Linked DNA regions of Homo sapiens: region 1 is linked to region 2. Evidence: promoter capture Hi-C in human tissues and cell types (Jung and others, 2019). All regions are on one chromosome and are shown on one strand. Each heading gives the region's core, a stretch centred on a gene start or on the middle of the fragment in contact. The rest is flanking DNA. Distances are from core to core; before and after follow the strand shown.

Region 1 (3,877 bases), core at 438-2,937, 390 kb before region 2:
TGATTGAAATAAAGGAACAAGGTGAAAAATATCAAAGGGGAGAGCGTTTTGGACAAAGAGAAAGGCAAGTGCAGTGGCCCTGAGGCAGAAATGAGCTTGGCTTGTTCCATGAACAGCTTTCTATAACAGTTTCTTCAATCGGCCGGGCGCGGTGGCTCACGCCTGTAATCCCAGCACTTTGGGAGAAAGACGCGGGCGGATCACCTGAGGTCAGGAGTTCGAGACCAGCCTGGCCAACATGGTGAAAACCCATCTCTACTAAGAATACAAAAAAATTAGCCAGGCGTAGTGGTGCACTCCTGTAGTCCCAACTACTCGGGAGGCTGAGGCAGGAGAATCGCTTGAAACCAGGAGGCGGAGGTTGCAGTGAACTGAGATCGTGCCGTTGTACTCCAGCCTGGGCAACAAGAGCAAAACTCTGTCTCAAAAAATATATATAAAATAAATAAATAATTTCTTCAATCCCTTGACTGGGGTCTTGGGAGAATGAGATAAGCATAAATGCGATAGTAGCTTTTTAGAAGTAAAAAGAATATGCATGTGAAAGTTTCCATAATAATTTACATTTAATTATTGGTCCTTGGAGCTCCAATTCTCTCTCTACATTCAGCACCCAGCAGGTGGCATTGAGGGAGTTGGAGGTATCAGTCTAATCCAAGAAATATCAGCATCTTAAAATTAAACATCCCATTCAGTTAACATTTATCCAGTTCCTACTTATGCAAGGTGCTGTCTTGGCTATTGGCTGTGTTAGCATTGGTACTTTTTTCTCAATTATTTAAAAATGTAAAATGTGGCCGGGTGCGGTGGCTCACACCTGTAATCTCAGCACTTTGGGAGGCCGAGGTGGGCTAATCACCTGAGGTCAAGAGTTCGAGACTGCCTGGCCAACATGGTTGAAACCCCGTCTCTACTAAAAATACAAAAATTAGCCAAGTGTGATGGCGGGTGCCTGTAATCCCAGCTACTTGGGAGGTTGAGGCAGGAGAATCGCTTGAACCTGTGAGGCGGAGGTTGCAGTGAGTCGAGATCGTGCCACTGCACTCCAGCCTAGGCAACAGAGCGGGACTCCGTCTCAAAAAAATAAAAAAATAAAAATGTAAAATGCATTCTTAGCTGGAGGACCATGCAAAAACAGTTGGAGGGGCCAGATTTGGCCACAGGTCAGAGTTTGTCAACTCTTGCTCTAAAGTATTAGGAGGTGAAGAGGCATTGTGTCAGCAGCATACTGTCAAATATTTGGGGAAAAGAAAGTTATTTGTACTGTTCTTGCCACTTTTTGGTATTATTTTAAAATTAAATTTAGTATCATAAAAGAAGTGAAGAGAAGAAGCAGGTGCATGGAACACAGGGTTCTCATGATCAAGGATGGCAAAAAATAATGCTAGCTAACGTTTATTGAGCCTAGGACTCTGGTAAATTCTTTTTTTTTTTTTTTTTTTTTGAGACGGAGTCTCTCTCTGTCACCCAGGCTGGAGTGCAGTGGCGCTGTCTCCGCTCACTGCAAGCTCCGCCTCCTGGGTTCACACCATTCTCCTGCCTCAGCCTCCCCAGTAGCTGGGACTACGGGCGCCCACCACCACACTTGGCTAATTTTTTGTATTTTTAGTAGAGACAGGGTTTCACCGTGTTAGCCAGGATGGTCTCGATCTCCTGACCTCGTGATCCACCCACCTCAGCCTCCCAAAGTGCTGGGATTACAGGCGTGAGCCACTGCACCCAGCTGGACTCTGGTAAATTCTTTACACAGGGTGTTTTATTTAATCCTCATAACCATTTATTCAGTGAGGATTATTCATTCCATTTTCCAGTTGAAGAATAGGAATCAGGTTGGAAGAGATGAAGTAACTTACCTCAAGTTACATAGTTGTTGGTGACAAAGTTGGGATTTGAATCTAAGTCTTCCAACTCCAGAGCCCTGATGCTCTAGTCTGTTATTTATTGCTTATAAACTATAGTTGGTGATGGTAATTAGTAACTACTATTTGTTTATTTATTTTGTTTATTTTTTTCGAGACGGAGTCTCACTCTGTCAGCCAGGCTGAAGTGCAGTGGTGCGATCTCAGCTCACTGCAACCTCTGCCTCCTGGATTCAAGTGATTCTCCTGCCTCAGCCTGCTGAGTAGCTGGGACTACAGGTGTGTGCCACCACACCTGGCTAATTTTTTGTATTTTTAGTAGAGACGGGGTTTCACTGTGTTAGCCAGGATGGTCTCTATCTCCTGACCTCATGATCCGCCCATCTTGGCCTGCCAAAGTGCTGGGATTACAGGCATGAGCCACTGTGCCCAGCCAGTTAACTACTATTTAAGACAAAATTAAATACTGATAAAGGTGCAAAAAGCTCTAGTAGGATAGAGGAATGAGAAATTGAGGAGCTAGGAAAGCTTGAAGGAGGTGGTGGCATTTGAACTGTTTCTTTGAATAGAATTTCAGTAATTGAAGTGGAGAAAACCCACAAAACACTACTTAATTACAAAGGGAAAATGAGTAACTTTACAATGGAGAGGCCTGGCAAACATCACCTTAATGAAGTGATCAAAGTTAACGTTACCACTAATGGGGCAAATTGAAATCATGTATCACCTGATACGAAATGCATTGAGAAGAACACAGCATCACTTCTATGATATTCCTGCCCAAAACGCATAACCTGAATATTATCATAAGGTAACATCAGACAACCTCAAATCAAGGGACATCCTTAAGGATTTCATGACAGTCCTTGGAAGGAAAGACTGAAGATTGTAGATCCAAAGACTGAAGATTGTAGATCCAAAGAGACTAGAGACATGACAACCAAATGCAAACATGATCCTGGATTGGATCCTTAGGTGTGTAAGGTATTATTGGAACAATCTGTGAAACTTGAATGGGATCTGTAAAGAAGGTGGTAGTAATGTGTGAATATCAATTTTCTGATTTTGATGGTTGTATTGTGGTTATGTAGGAGAATGTTCTTGTTTGTAGGAATTACACATGGTGAGGGAGAGGTTGGCAAACTTTTTCTATTAAGGACTGGATAATATTTTAGGCTTTGTGAGCCATATGGTTTCAGTCTCAACTATTCAACTCTGCTATTACAGTGTGAAGGCAACTGTAAATGATGCAAATGAATATGCATGGCTGTTTTCCAGTGAAACTTTTTTTTTTTTTTTTTTTTTGAGATGGAGTCTTGTTCTGTCTCCCAGGCTGGAGTGCAGTGGTGCCATCTCGCCTCACTGCAACCTCCACCCCCTGGGTTCAAGGGATTCTCCTATATCAGCCTCCTGAGTAGCTGGGATTACAGGTGTGAGCCACCGTACCCAGCTAATTTTTGTATTTTTAGTAGAGACAGCGTTTTGCCATGTTGGCCAGGCTGGTCTCGAACTCCTGACCTCAGGTCATCTGCCTGCCTTGGCCTCCCAAAGTGCTGGTATTACAGGCATGCGCCACCGCGCCCGGCCTCCCAATGAAACTTTTTTAATAGACACTGACATTTGAATTCCTTATAATTAATTTTCATGTATCATGAAATATTTTTCTTTTGACTTTTTCCCTGGCAATTTACAAATGTGAAAAAGCATTCTTAGCTTGAGGGCCATGTAAAAACAGCTGGAGGGGCCAGATTTGGCCACAGGCCAGAGTTTGCCCACCCTTACACTAAAGTATTAGGAGGTGATGAGCCATTGTGTCAACAGCTCACTTTCAAATAATTTAGGAAAAAGTAAGTTATTTGTACTGTTCTTGCCATTTTTTGATACTGAGTTGTTTTAAAATTAAATTTAGTATTAAAAAAGTGGAGGGAGGGGGACCTCCTCTTTTGGCTTTGGAGCGCCCCCCACGCCCCATCTCTGTACGGCGGAGCTTCTTCCTTCTGTCTTCTTTCTTCCTTCTT
Region 2 (4,884 bases), core at 1,849-4,348:
AGATGGAGTCTTGCTCTGTCGCCCAATTCCCCTGCCTCAGCCTCCCGAGTAGCTGGGATTACAGGTGCACACCACCACGCCCGGCTAATTTTTTTGTATTTTTAGTAGAGACGGGGTTTCACCATGTTGGCCAGACTGGTCTCGAACTCCTGACCTCAGGCAATCCGCCTGCTTCAGCCTCAGCCTCCCAAAGTGCTGGGACTATAGGCATGAGCCACCGCGCCGGCCAAAAGTTCTTTCTTAAACTCAATATCCTTTTTTCTTTTTTGGCATCCCATGCCCCTTGATGCAGTCTCTTATTTCCTGATGTGTTCCCTTGTACCCTGATGTGATATAATGTCTCCGTGGATGTTGATAATTCTTTTGATGGTTTCTTCTGTTCCTTTCATTATCTCTGGTTCCTCTGAATTCGTTTTTTGGGGGAGGGGGGCTGTTGCTGTCATCATAGCTCACTGCAGCCTCCAAATCCTGGGCTTCAGCAATCCTCTTGCCTCAGCCTCCCAAGTAGCTGGGACCACAGGTGCATGCCACCACGCCTAGTTTTAAAGTTCTTTTGCAGAGTTGGGGTCTTACTACAATGCCCAGGCTGGGGGTGTTTCTATCTTTCCTGTTACAGGTTCCCTTCAAATGTCTGGCATTCTTTGGCTATCCATTCATAACAAGGCACTAAAAAGCTGAGTGAAAGGTCTGTGTGGATGGGGCTTCCTGAATGATGGACTTCTCTGTGGAGTATTTGGGCAGGAACATGATCTTTATGTAGGAAGACACCTCCCTACCCTCACTCCCATTGTTGGTACATGAAGCATTTTCTTCCCTAAGCTAGTCAATTTTCTAGAGAGGGTTCCTATGTTCTTTTGTTGGAGAAGTCAGACTCTCTGGCCAGAATGGAGGCTTTACCATATCCTCCCATTTTCAGCATGGTTGCTCCTTCTCACCTATAAAGTCCAGTCTCTCTGGTTCAGCCTTTCCAGAGGGAAAACCTCTAGTTTGCTACCTGGGTGGGAAAAGAGACATCGAATCATCAGTGGCACCAGGGGCTTCTACTTCCTGAGCCTTTCTGGTGCACTTTAGCATTGATCAACTTCTTTCCTGTCTTCTCCTACTCTATGACTTCTTTTTCTCCACTCTACTAAAGTCATTTCCATTTATCTGTGCTCTCTGGCCTCCAAAATGTTGACATCTGTTGTCTGCCATTGTCTCTTCTCCAGGTCTCTTTGTCCATGTGAATTTATGCACTTCTTATTCCTCTGCTGTCATTTCAGTGGGCTTTTGAGAGGAAGAAGAGGTCAGTGTGATGTGTATCCTCGTGATTCAATCTTTCACGCTACCCTTAAGTCTCTTTACAATGTTTGAGCCAGGCTCGGTGGCTCACGCCTGTAATCTCAGCACTTTGGGAGGCTGAGGCGGGCGGATCACAAGGTCAGGAGTTCCAGACCAGCCTTGCCAACATGGTGAACCCCGCCTCCACTAAAAATACAAAAAAAAAAAAAAAAAAAAAAGTCCGGGCGAGGTGGCTCACGCCTGTAATTCCAGCATTTTGGGAGGCCGAGGCAGGCGGATCACGAGGTCAGGAGATCGAGACCAGCCTGGCTAACACGGTGAAACCCCGTCTCTACTAAAAATACAAAAAATTAGCCGGGCTTGGTGGCGGGCGCCTGTAGTCCCAGCTACTCGGGAGGCTGAGGCAGGAGAATGGCGTGAACCCGGAAGGCGGAGCTTGCAGTGAGCCGAGATCGCGCCACTGCACTCCAGCCTGGGCGACAGAGTGAGACTCCTTTTCAAAAAAAAAAAAAAACAAATGAGCTGGGCTTAGTGGTGGGCGCCTGTAATCCCAGCTACTAGGGTGGCTGAGGCAGGAGAATCTCTTGAACCTGGGAGGCGGAGGTTGCAGTGAGCCGAGATTGCGCCACTGTACTCCGGCGACAGTGCGAGACTCCGTCTCAAAAAAAAAAAAAAAAAAAGAATACAATGTTTGAATTCTGTGTGCCCTGCCTCCCCTTAGATGGAAGCGTAGGCTGAAGCATGGGTGGGGCAAAGGGTAACAGCTAGAAAATACACACCCTTCCTCAAAAAATTACATTCCATTTGACTCTTTCAGGGCAGGGTAAGACCCATTTTTCCATTGTGTGATTTCTGTCAACTACTCTTTTCAAAAGGAGAGAAGTCCTGCCACCCTTCTATGTGTTTTATGTATTTTGGCTAAGAGTCCTGGAGCACTGGGTGAGGTCCTCAGAAGGGATGGAAAAATCCGATTCTTGACTCTCATAGTCAGCGCTAGGCAGGAGCATCAGAGATTACTGAATCCAATTTCCCTATTGTATAAAAAGGAAACTGAAGCCCAGAGAGCTTTAGTCGATCTGGATCAACTTCGGTCCCTTGTGAAATACTTCTCTCAAAGGATGGCTCGAAGTCAAGCTCCTTGCAGTCTTTGGGCCTTTGGGTCTAACGTTCCCTATGCCCCAATGCTGTAGGCTCCTCGCTGTGCCTCGGTCAAAGGTCCTTTCAGAGACTGTCCCTCTCAGCACTGTGGCCAGTTTTACTTTTTTGTGGCACTTGTTGATATTTAAAAATATTTATTTTACGAGTTATGTGAGTTCTTCCACTGGAATGAAATCCCCATAAGAGGAGATCATTCCTGTCTCGTTCACCGTTGAATCCTCAGGGTGAGCTGAGATTCGAAGCTAAGCAGTCTGGCTCTAAGGTCGCGCTTTCGGCCCAACATTATGCTGCTATTTAGTGAAGACGATGGACTTCTGCGCACACGGGGAAGCAACAGTGAGAAAAGACACCCGGAAGTGAGCAACAGCAAAACATCCAGATTTGTCCGCACGGTGCCCCCTCTGACCTTTCCCTCCGGAAGCTCTCGCGGCTCTCGGGCGGGAGTGCGCACGCGCGGCCACCGGGGTCGCTCCGGGTCGCGCGCGGAGCAGGGGCTAGAGGGAAGGGTCAGCCTCCAGGGCTGGCAGGCGCCTGCGCCGCGGGGCTCCCGTCAGGACGCGCATTCTCGCTCCCTCCCTCGGCTGCGCGCGCCCGGTGGGCGTGGGAGGAGGCGGGGAACCGGGGAGGGGTGGGTGTCGCAGGAGGGAAGGAGCGAACCGGAGAGCGTCGTCCTGAGAGGAGTGAAGGCGGCAAAATGGCGGACCGCTTCTCCCGCTTCAACGAAGACCGAGACTTTCAGGTAAACACGGGCGTCGCCGAGGATGCGGGGAAGGCGCTGGTCTAGCCCAGAACCTCCTTCATCTCCGGCTCCCAGCCCTCTTTCCTTCCAGTTTTGCTCCGACTTGCGAACCAGCTCGCTCTTCTCCCGTCTCTGCTTTCTCAAGAGGCCTCCCGGCTTGAGGGAGGCCGCATCTCCTCGCACCCGCATTCTCTTACCCCTGAAACTCAGGCCGCGGGGCTTGCGGCTTCCGCCTGTTTGGCATCGGATTTCGGAACCGGGCCTGAGCGCCGTGTGAGGGGCTGTGCCCTCCAGGTCTGCCCGATCTGTGCCGGCGAAGGGCTGGCTCCCAGGGGACAAGAGGGGTGGTTGGGTTGGGCTGAGAGGGCTTGGGGGAGAGTATTGCTGAGGCCAAGGCTTCCGAACCCCGGGATTTTGCTCTCACGGATCCTTTTGGGGTCCTTCTCTTTTCTTTCTTCACTGTGATAAATCAATTCCTTTCATTGTCTGCTTTTCCTCTTCCTTACCTGGGAAAAGGTTGCCTTCGCTATCAGACGCCTTATTGGTTAGTCATACATTGAGATTTCGCGGGGCATAAGTGTTGCTGTTATTAGGCTGTTAATTGGGCTTGGAAAGCAGTAAGTTACTGGACTATGATCCGATGTGAGCCTAACCTCAAATCCTATCTCGAAAGATTTGTGAGAAGCGTGATGATAATAGGCCGTCCACGCATGGGGTCACTAGTGCCAAAAGCTTGATTTTTCTTTCTTCAATTGCAAATGTTAGTATGGAAAAATGCCCTTACGATGGCAAGCTCTATTGAGTAAAAAATAAAGGCCAAATTAGAATAACTTGTTTTTTCGCTGTTGAAAATACCTTTCTGTTGAAATTGTTACCGCGGAAATCTCGAAGACTAAAAGGGATTTAGTAGAGATTGGCTATTTCTAGGTAAAATACATCCGTAGAGTCTCAAAAAAAAAAAAAAAACACTGCATTACTACCGCATATCCTGGCAACTGCAATTTGGGTCGGGATGAATCTCAGAACTCAAGTTTTTATCCCGCTGCAGATCCTACTCAAAGCAGTACGAAAGCACTCTAGATGTGTTTCAGAAGGCAGTTTAAAGAGTTTGAATTCCCTGAGATGATAGGATTGGTAAATAAATAGGTAAAGCAGTTTAACAATTTTAACTCAGCACTGTTAACAGTCTAGTACATAGAACGCTTATGAGAAGTTTTGCAGCAGTAAGGGATCTGGGGGCTGTTAAAAAGCCTTGTGATCATGCGCCTGCTGTATAGCTGCAGCACAATACAGGAGAGTCTCAGGATGTTCTAAGGATATAATGCAGATTCACCAAAGTTTGAAGCAGTTCATGTTAGCCTTTTGATCCCTGAGAAATATATATATATACACACATATATATATATTAGCAAGCACTATAAAATATGAGTTGGCTGCAAGGTGTATGAGCTTTATTGATTTTTAAATTACCGGTAGAGACATACTGATAACTAAAGCCCGCAAATGCTTTTCAGAGGAGAGAATAATCTCAAGGTGACCTAATAAAATCGAAAATAGATAATATGGACAGTTAAGTTTTGAGGGAAGATGACTGTCAACCACAGAATTCCAGCAGGCTTAGCAAACAGGATTTTCAGGGCCTTTAATGAAGATTTTGAAAATTGTGGATAGCAGAGTGTGAATGCTGTTTCCTGAAAAACATTCAG

Evidence for each region. Contacts are between HindIII fragments. The study calls those that stand out against the background at their distance.
Region 1: a fragment that was not itself captured here is called in contact with the fragment with the promoter of GPATCH8 in region 2 in 1 of the 25 tissues and cell types used here (small bowel).

What each region holds. Positions count from the first base shown.
Region 1 is chr17:44,894,783-44,898,659 of GRCh38, reverse strand. All of the region lies in intron 1 of EFTUD2 (elongation factor Tu GTP binding domain containing 2), which reads left to right. Among named protein-coding and RNA genes, the nearest start is that of EFTUD2, 2.7 kb to the left of the region's middle. The HindIII fragment of the contact is 4,028 bases long and covers 1-3,701 here.
Region 2 is chr17:44,501,620-44,506,503 of GRCh38, reverse strand. GPATCH8 (G-patch domain containing 8) reads left to right here and starts at 3,098. Exons shown (of 8, transcript NM_001002909.4): 1 at 3,098-3,178. The coding sequence starts at 3,134. RefSeq lists a silencer at 2,815-3,164 and an enhancer at 3,265-3,364. The HindIII fragment of the contact is 22,919 bases long and covers 1-4,884 here.